Regions from separate parts of the Homo sapiens genome. Here region 2 is linked to region 1. The links are contacts of gene promoters, found by promoter capture Hi-C in human tissues and cell types (Jung and others, 2019). All regions are on one chromosome and are shown on one strand. The core of a region is centred on a gene start or on the middle of the fragment in contact, and the rest is flanking DNA. Distances in the headings are between cores, read along the strand shown. Region 1 holds the start of INSL6 (insulin like 6). Region 2 overlaps PLGRKT (plasminogen receptor with a C-terminal lysine).

Region 1 (5,240 bases), core at 2,586-5,085:
AAGACAAACATGCTGCCCCAGAAGTAAAAGGCAGCTTCCCAGATCGAGCCTGTCCCTGGCCCATGTCCCTCATCCCTTCCTCTGCAAAGTTATAATTCAAGATGATATTTGGGTGGGGACACAGAGCCAAACCATATCAGCACTAATAAGTAGGTACACCTTAAGTAGGTAGAAAAAGAACAAGCCAGAAGAAGGAAGAATAAAAAATGAAGATTACAATGGAGCTAAATAAAACAGAAGATAGGCAAATTCCTTGAACCCAGGAGCAGCCAAGATGGCGGAACAGAAACAGCTTCACTCTGCAGCTCTTACCTAGGAGGATGAAAATGGAGAGTGAATTCTGCATTGTCAATTGAGGTACCAAGATTCTCTCACTGGGACTGGCTAGGTAGTTGGTGCGACCCACGGAGAGTGAGAAAAAGCAAGGTAGAGAGAGGGCCCACCTGGGAGCTGCATGGGGCAAAGGGAACTCCCTCCCCCAGCCATCTGGGGCAGTGATGGATTGTGCTACCCTACCCTGAAAACCACACTTTTGCCATGGATCAATGCAACCTGCAGATCAGGAGGTCCCCTTGTGAGTCCATGCCACGAGGGACTTGGATCACAAGCACAAAGCTGTACAGACTCATGATGGTGGCTGGGGTGGGTGGCCACTAGAGCAGGCACTGAGACACAGGAATATTTGCATACTTCAGCTTTGGAAACTCCCGCGATGCAGGAGATCCACCCACTCCCATGGGAAGGGAGCTGAAGCCAGGGATCCACGAGGTCTTGCTCCCACGGAACCCCACAAGCTAAAACCTACTGGCTTAGAATCCTCTCTGGCCAGCACGGCAGGCTACAGACTGCCTAAAAAGACTGAGTTCGTGGGAGTGAGGGGGTGCTGCCATCACTATGGCTGCAGTCCACAGTTTTCCCATGCCACTGGTGCCAACGAGACTCAGCAGTCTGAATTGGGAGCAATTCCCCAGAGTGCAGCACAGCTGCTGGGTCAGTTTGTAGCCAGACTGCTTCTTTAAGCAGGATCCTGATCCACTCCTCCTCACCAGGCAGGGGCCCCCGCTATGGGAATCTCAGCATCCCCAGCCAGGGGTTCATGGACAGAACTCTGATATCCCTGAGAGGAGCCCCTGGGAGGAGAAGTGGCTGTGGTATTGTGGATCAGCCATCTTAGTCTTTTCTGCCTGCTGGCTCTGAAGAGTAAGGGCAGCCCAGACAAGGGGGATTCCCACCAGTGCAGCACATCCACCCTGCCAAGGGGCAGCTAGATTGCTTATTTAAGTGGGTCCCTAATCCTGGTCATCTTTTGAAAGAACCAACTTTAGTTTTGTTAAACTTTTCTATTGTTTTGCTAGCCTCTATTTTTAAAATTTTTTTGTTGGACTTTCGTTATTTTCTTCTTTCTGCTAAGCTTGGGCTTACTTTGTTCTTCTAGTTCCTTGAAATACAATGTTAAGTTGTTTATTTGAGATCTTTTTTGACATAGGTGCTTATTACTATAAACTTCTCTCTCAGCACTGTGTTTGCTGCATACCATAAATTTTGGTATGTTGTGTTTCCATTTTGGAGTTTTTGAGATGGAGTCTCACTCTGTCACACAGGCTGGAGTGCAGTGATGCCCTCTCAGCTCACTGCAACCTCCGCTTCCCAGGTTCAAGCCATTCTCCTGCCTCAGCCTCCTGAGCAGCAGGGATTACAGGTGCCTGCCACCACACCTGACTAATTTTTCGTATTTTTAGTAGAGACAGGGTTTCACCATGTTGGCCAGGCTGGTCTTGAGCTCTTGGCCTCAAGTGATCCACTCACCTCAGCCTCCCAAAGTGCTGGGATTACAGGCATGAGCCACTGAGCCCAGCCTGTCTCAAGATATTTTTTAAACTCCCTTTATATTTCTTCTTTGACCCACTGGTAGTTAGGAACATGTTCTTTAATTTCCACATATTTGTGAGTTTTCAAAAGTTCCTCCTTTTATTGATTTCTACTTTCATTCCATTGTGGCCAGAAAAGATATTTGATATTATTTTATTCTTCTAAATTTATTAGGACTTGCTTTGTAGCATAACATATGATCTATTCTGGTGAATGTTCTCTGTGCATTTTAGAAGAATGCGTATTCTGTTGCTGTTGGATGGAATGTCCCATAAATATCTGTTAGCTCCACTTGTTCCAAAGTATAGTTCAAGTCTTTTGATGAGTCTCTTGTGGGCAGTATATAGTTGAGTCTTTTTTTTTTTATCCATTCAGCCCTGTTTTTTGATCAAAGAACATAATCCATTTACATTCAAAGTAGTTATTGATGGGTTAGAATTTACTACTGCATTTTGTTAATTGTTTAGTGGTTATTTTGTAGATCCTTTGTTCTTTTCTTTTTCTCTTGTTCTCTTTGTGATTAGATGATATCCTGTAGTGGTATGCTTGATTTCTTCTTTTTTATCTTTTATATATCTACTATAGGTTTTGCCTTGTGGTTACCACAAGGCTTACATTCATCTCAGTATGATTAATATTTTCCGTTCTCAAAAACCTTACCTGATAAAGTTCTGACTAGGACTCATGGCCCACTATAGTTTGGACATAAGTTATTTTTTAAGGAAGGTGATTAAATTTTACTAATCTATATTATATCAACCATTTAAAAAATCCAATTGGCAGTTAATTTAACAGCATTCATGGATGCCACTGGGAAGCAGGGAAAAGATAGGGAAACGGAAAATTAAGAAAAAGACATAGAGTCAGAAGACAGAAAAGAAAGGGAGAAAAAAATAAAATTGTATAGGGAAATGGTGAGATCACTGATAAGCTTGCACCTGTGGCTTCAGCATCCTGAACCTTATTCCTGAGACAGCCACCGAATGCCCTCTTGTGGCCGATAGTACATCCTTCCACGCCAACACACTAGTAACACAGAACTTCATTTAAAATGATAAAGCTACCTATGCCGATTGCGCTTCGCTTCCCTGCCCCTTCCCTCCTAACTGAGCAAAATTATCTCACCTAAATGAGCATTTCATGCTGCATGCTGTTATTCTTACAAGGCAAATCCTCTAGGGGTCCCTGTCACAAGTTAATTTGGTAATACACAATCCTCTACATTATCTAACCGAAAGAACCAGATTTCCATCCCAGGTACCTCAAGACAGCGTCCCTACTTCTTTTTTCTGGAGATTGAGGCTAAGGCCCATGCCTCCCTGTGAACCAGTAGGATTTTTCTGAAGAAGCTTTGAACCTGACTAAACGCACATGGCCATATGCAACACTTAAACGTTTCACCACATATTTGATTGCCAGCTAAATGCCAGATCCCGGGGTACGATGGAAAGCAAGAACAGACGCAGGCCCTTGCCTTCATGAAGCGGGGGTCTCAGGAAAGAGGTTACACGCCCACAAATGGAAACAGGTCGATTAACACCGTGAAAGAGATGACAGGGGGTTTCTGTGAGGGAGACGAAGCTTTATTAACAACCTGGCAAACAAGAACGAGAAACGCATTCCAGGTGGAGGGAGCAACACTTTTTAACCTACGTTATCAGGTAACAGGGATCCTATGTTCTCACGCTTGGTGAGGAATCTCCCATTGAGGAAGGAAAGAAAAATGAATCAAACTAGGGGGTGGCGGGGTAGTGAGGGGATTTTTGGCTTTCATTTTAGGAGCCAGGGCCTGCTACCTTCGACCACCTGAGACCCCTGAGCTGGCGGGAAAGCCTTGACGCAGCCGGCGCGCGCCTTCCCTTGAAGTTCTGGCGACGCCCCCACGCGCTCGGAATTCCGCAGTGTTTGTGCGCGCCGCTCGGCCTGGCGCAGGCGCAGACAGGGAGCAGGGTCCGGCCGACCGCCATTGCACAACGCGGAGGACTAGCCTGGGGTCACAGGGATGCCGCGGCTCCTCCGCTTGTCCCTGCTGTGGCTTGGACTCCTGCTGGTTCGGTTTTCTCGTGAACTGAGCGACATCAGCAGTGCCAGGAAGCTGTGCGGCAGGTACTTGGTGAAAGAAATAGAAAAACTCTGCGGCCATGCCAACTGGAGCCAGTTCCGTTTCGAGGAGGAAACCCCTTTCTCACGGTTGATTGCACAGGCCTCGGAGAAGGTCGAAGCCTACAGCCCATACCAGTTCGAAAGCCCGCAAACCGCTTCCCCGGCCCGGGGAAGAGGCACAAACCCAGGTAAAAATCGAAACCGAAGGCATGTTTGTTCACCTCTGTATATTTCTTATTCCTGCATTTGCTCTGCCAGAAGGTGAGCTTCCCCAGGAAGTGGAATTTGTGCCTAGTACACAGCTCTTTAAAAAATTGTAAAAAACAGTGTATTGAAAATATACAAAACTTCAATGAAGCGCTTTTTTTTTTAACTTGGAGGAAATAAATGTACACTTGTAAGTCTACATATTTATGTAAGAATGTTGTTCTTTTCTGGAGTGCCAGTCATCTGGCAAACTCCTTTTTGTCCTTCAAAGCCCAACTTAAGTATCATTTTCCCTGTGAAGTCATCATTGACCTTTTCATGGCCAATGGCTCCATTGTCCTTTCTACCACAGTATCTAGCACATAGTTGTATTTGACTGTCGTCATTGGCTACAGAATCAGCCCAACCTTGTAGAAGATAAAAATGCAGAGTACCTTGTTCAAAAAAGCAGGAAAGGGCCATGAAAATAAAGGTAGTAAAATATAAAACTGTTTTCCTTACTTGTCCATATCCCCTGGTCACGTACCAGGAGATAGGCCTGGTCCGTTCTCCTATCAGGCTTCATTTAAGAGTTTACGTACTTGTATTTCATTCACTTAAAGTTTCAAAGGTAAATTTATTCAGAACAACAAAGGAACATTTAAACCAAATGCAAGGCCTGTGTGACTACATAGGTTTCAGTCCCATAAAGTCAGCCCTATATACCATACTGTATTATAGGGACTATTTCATGCATATTTTTGTCTGAAATGCTTAGCAGATGGCCTAGCACATCGCATGTGTTTAATATGCGCTGAATTTATACTTGATGCTTTCAAGCAGTCTGCAGGAAGGATATTCTTGTTCCAGATTCATTGGTATATCTTACTATGTTTTTACATTTTGTGACTAAGACATTTTAGTCCCAGTATGATTTGTCATTTTAAAAGAAATTGCACTTTGTTTATAGTGTATCCATAGGAAGAAGATTACTGCCTTTTACAGTAATTCAGTTGATTTGATTTGGACAAATCTTGTAAAAGTGAAGATTTCTGAAATTAAGGAAATGAGTAAACTATCAT
Region 2 (5,113 bases), core at 2,399-4,898, 220 kb before region 1:
ACATGGGCTTCTCTGAGGTCCCATTATTCTGCCCACCCCAGGTACTTAGGTTATTTCCAATATTTTGCTATTACAAACAGTGCTTCAATGAATAACTTTGTTCTTTCATATTTTTATATTGTTAGAGGTGTATCTTCAGGGTAGATTTTTAGAGTTGAGATTGCTGAGTTAAAGGCAAGTACTTGTTAGATATTGCTACGTTTCTCTTCAGAAGGGTTTATCAATTTGAAAGTGGCTATTTTCCCAAAGTCTCACCAACAAAGTATGTTGTCTTGCTTTTTAGTTTTTGCTAGCCTGACAAGCAAGAAGTGGTATCTCAGTCTTGCTTTAATTTGCTTTTCTTTAATTATGAGTGAGTTTGAACATTTTCTCACATTTGAGGGCCATTTATATATCTTGTTTTTTTTGTGAATTTTCTGTTTATTGGTCTCTTGTCTACTGTCCCTCAAGTGTTCTTTGAATATTAGGAGTATTGGCCTCTTGTCTATGGATATATCTTCCTAATATTTTATCTCAGATTGTCACTTGTTTACGGTGGTTTAAAAATTTTTACACCATGAAAAAAAGTTTAGTTTTATGTGGTCAAGTTACCAATATTTTATTTACTCTACATTTTGATTCTTGATGTAGAAAGCTTTTCCCTATACCACAGTTATCCTTGTTTCCTGTGGTACTTTTGTCTTCGTTCATTTTCTGTTGCTATAATCCAATATACAGACTGGGTGATTTATAAAGAATAGAGATTGATTTAGCTCATGGTTCTAGAGGCTGGGAAGTCTCCTTCCTTCTGCATCAGGACATGGCGGGAAGCATCATATGATAAGACAGAGCAAGCAAGCCCAAGAAAGCTTGGTTTTATAACAAAGCCATGATAACAAACCTACTCTCATGATAGGGACATTAATTTATTCATGAGGGCAGAGCCAGCATTTATTCATTCATGAGGATAAAGGATTAAGTTTCCCACACATGAACTTTGGGGGGACACATTCAAACCATAGCAACTTGTATAGCTTCATTTATTGACATTTAGATTCCAAATCCATTTGGGGTTTATTCTCATATATGATATGAGATAGGGATCTAGTTTTATCTTTTTCAGACGGCTACCTTGTGGTACCTATACCACTTATTAAGAAGTCTATCTTTACCCCCAGTGAGTTGAGATACTACCTGTATCACATACTAAGTCTCTGTATGTACTTGCATTTGTTTCTGGACACTCTAATTCACTGGTCAGTTTGTCTAGTCATGTACTAGTATTGTAATGTTTTAATTATAGACACTTTTTAGTATGGTTTAATGCTTGTTGAGGCTACTATACCATTGTAGTTTTTCTTTTTCAATGTTTTCTTGGATAATCTTTCATGTTTGATTTTCCACAGAAATTTTGGTATCAACATGCCCAAGTATAAAATAGTCTGTTGATATTTTTCATTGGGATTGTATTAACTTATAAGTTTATTTGTGAAGAACTATTGAGTCATTTTATTCAAGAATAGGAAATGTTTTTCCATTTGTTTAAGTCTATTTTAATGTCTTCCAGAAGCTTATAAATAAACTGTAGGCTAAACTAAAGAAAAAATGAAATTTTAAGTTAAATTTAAAACTGTAATATCTTGTCAGTAATTGGAAATATATTCTTATAGTTGGATTTCTTACCTAGCCAGCAAGAGGATGTGTTAGCAGTGGCTTAACGTCATGGTATGGCTACTGAGGGCTGTGGATTCATTCTTCTTTGTGTGCACTTGCAGGTTCACAGGCTTTGGAGTCACATATACCTGTGTCCGAACCTGACTCTATCACTTACTGGTTCAGTAACCATGGATAAGTGACACAGGCTCTCTGAGTCTGGCTTCTTCATCTCTAAGATGGGGAGAAGGATACCCAAGAATTGGTTCATGTAGCAGAGTAGATGCTCAATAGTGTTTCCCTCTTTTCTTTTCTTTTCTTTTTTTTTTTTTTTGAAACAGGGTCTTGCTCTGTCTCCCAGGCTGGAGTGCAGTGGCATAACCTTGGCTCGCTGCAACCTCTGCCTCCCAGGTTCAAGTGATTCTCCTGCCTCAGCCTCCTGAGTAGCTGGAATTATAGACGCATGCCACTGTGGCCCGGCTAATTTTTGTATTTTTAGTAGAGACGGGGTTTCACCATATTGGCCAGGCTGATCTCAAACTCCCGACCTCAGGTGGTCCACCTGCCTCGGCCTCCCAAAGTGTTGGGATTACAGGCGTGAGTCACCGCAACTGGCCTGTTTCCATCTTTTCTTGTCTGCTTTCTTTTCTCTTATTTGCTCATGATGACTACTCCATTTTTTCTTTCATCTCTAGTTTCATTATATACATAACCAGAGAGTAAGTTAAGCTAAATATTATCATACAAATACCCATTTTGTTTAGCCATATAACAATTAATATTATATCAAGCTGAAGTAAATAATGCTGATTTATTTCATCTAGAGTGTTGTGTATTGGTCTCAAGGTAAAAGGCTGTGCTTTAAAAAATGGAGACAAAATTTTATTGTTCATTTGTAAACGCTTATTTGATATACTGATGCCATTTCTAATCTTTCTCTGTGGTACAGGCCATAAACCTGTACTAGAAGTGAAACGTTTTAATTTTCTACTGTGGATCTGCCTTATTCCAAGAGCTATGCAACAGACAATAGTGTTAGACAAAGTTTCAGTATGAACAAATTAATTCATTTTTTATAGAGAAGCATAATCTAAAACATAATTTTCCCAACCCTGCCTGCTTAAACTGCTTATTGCCTTAATTATGATTTCAACATGATTTTGGTGACTTCTGTTAATTTCTTTTTCTTTTTTCTTTCTTTTTCCTTTTTTTTTTTTTTTGAGACAGAGTCTTGCTCTGTTACCCAGGCTGATGTGCAGTGGCACGATCTTGGCCCACTGCTCACTGCAACCTCTGCCTCCTGGGTTCAAGTGAGCATGTCAGCTAATTTTTGAACTTTTTTTTAGTATAGATGGGGGTTTCACCATGTTGCCTAGGCTGGTCTTAAACTCCTGACCTCAAGTGATCCACTTGACTCAGCCTCCCAAAGTGCCGGGATTACAGGCATGAGCCACTGTGCCCACCCACTTCTGTTAATTTCTATGTCTTGAGTTTATAGTGAGGTTGATTGCACAGATTGTATAATGTAGTGTAAACTTTTATACTTGAAAATGATCACCTTAAATGCTTATTTCAGTCACAAATAGAAAAATGAATAGGTACAATTAAGGCCAGTAATAGCAATTTTTCTTGCTTTTAAAAATAAAGTTTTAAAGTCAAAATATTATTTTATTATTTTAAAAGCAATCATTTTATCATCTTATATGCTTGGTTTCTAGGGTTTTTAAAGGTAAAAATTTCTCCAGGTCCCACTTCTCCTATGCTTGTTCTTAGATAAGAATTTGAAAAGCCATGCCTTAGAATGTTTCTGGAAAAAAAAGTTAGAATTTCATTATTCCAAGATACATTGGAGGTATTCCAAGATACACTGGGTAAACACTCTCATTCCAAATAGGAGAATTTGGCCAAAATAAAGGGGCTACAGGCCCCATGCATCTAAAACCCAGCAGGGCAGTCATTAAACCTTAAAGCTCCAAACTGATCTTCTTGGACTTCATGTCCCACATCCAGCGCACACTGGTGTGAGGGATGGGCTCCCAAGGCTTTGGGCAGCTCCATCCCTGTGGCTTTGCAAGGTTCAGCCCCCACAACTGCTCTCATGGGCTGGTGTTGAGTGTCTGTGGCTTTTCCAGGAGCAGGGTCTGAGCTGTCAGTGGATCTACCACTCTGGGTATATATATAAAGGGGAGTTTATTAAGTATTAACTCACACGATCACAAGATCCCACAATAGGCCATCTGCAGGCTAAGGAGCAAGGATAGCCAGTCCGAGTTCCAAAATTGAAGAACTCGGAGTCCGATGTTCAAGGTCAGGAAGCATCCAGCACGGGAGAAAGATGTAGGCCAGGAGGCTACGCCAGTCTAACCTTTTCACGTCTTTCTGCCTGCTTTATATTCACTGGCAGCTGATTAGATGGTGCCCATCCAGATTAAGGGTAGATCTGCCTTCCCCAACCCACTGACTTAAATGTTAATCTCCTTTGGCAACACCCTCACAGATATACCCAGGATTAATACTTTGCATCCTTCAATCCAATCAAGTTGACACTCAGTATTAACCATCACAGTGCCCCAGTGGAATCTTTGTGGGGGCTTCAACCCCATATTTCCCCTCTGTACTGCTCTAATAGAGGTTCTCCATGAGGAATCTCCCCCTGCAGCAGGCTTCTGCCTGGACATCCAGACTTTTCCATACATCCTCCAAAATCTAGGAAGAGGCTCCCAAGCCTCAACTCTTATCCGCTGCATACTCACAGGCTTAGCATCACATGGAAGCTGCCAAGACTTACAGCTTGCACCCTCTGAAGCAGTGACCAGAGCTGTATCTGTATCTGAGCTGTATCTGACCTGAAGCTGGAGCTGGAGTGACTGTGATGTGGGGGAACAGTGTCCCAAGGCTGTGCAGGGAAGTGGGGCTCTGGGCCTGGCCCAGGAAACCATTCTGTCCTCTTAGGCCTCTGGGCCTGTGATGGGAGGGGCTGCTGCAAAGGTCTCTGAAATGTCTTCAAGGCCTTTTCTTTATTGTCTTGACTATTAGACTTGGCTCCTCTTTACTTATGCAAATTGATGCAGCCTGCTTGAATTCTTCACCCAGAAATGGGCTTTTCTTTTCTACCACATGGCTATGCTACAAATTTTGTAAACTTTTATGCTCCCTTTTAAATATAAGTTCCAGTTTTAGGTCATTTCTTTGCTTGTGCATATGAGCCTAGGCTGCTAGAAGCAGCCAGTCTACATCTCAAATGTTTTGCTGGTTAGAAATTTCTTCCACCAGATACCGTAAATCATCACTCTCAAGCTCGAAGTTGCGCATATCCCTTGGCAGGGGCACAGTGCAGCCAGGCTCTTTGCTAAAGCTTAAGAGAAGTGACTGCTCCGCTTCCCATAGGTTTTTCATTTCCATCTGAGACCTCATCCACCTGGCCATCTCTGTCCATATCACTATCAGCATTTGGGTCACAACCATTCAGCAAGTCTCTAGG

The links. Contacts are between HindIII fragments. The study calls those that stand out against the background at their distance.
Region 2: a contact is called between a fragment that was not itself captured here and the fragment with the promoter of INSL6 in region 1, in 1 of the 25 tissues and cell types used here (lymphoblastoid cells).

The regions. Positions count from the first base shown.
Region 1 is chr9:5,184,234-5,189,473 of GRCh38, reverse strand. It overlaps INSL6 (insulin like 6), which reads left to right and starts at 3,835. Exons shown (of 2, transcript NM_007179.3): 1 at 3,835-4,160. The coding sequence starts at 3,872. The HindIII fragment of the contact is 6,352 bases long and covers 3,010-5,240 here.
Region 2 is chr9:5,408,238-5,413,350 of GRCh38, reverse strand. The region is part of intron 3 of PLGRKT (plasminogen receptor with a C-terminal lysine); the gene reads left to right. Among named protein-coding and RNA genes, the nearest start is that of PLGRKT, 27 kb to the left of the region's middle. The HindIII fragment of the contact is 4,898 bases long and covers 1,200-5,113 here.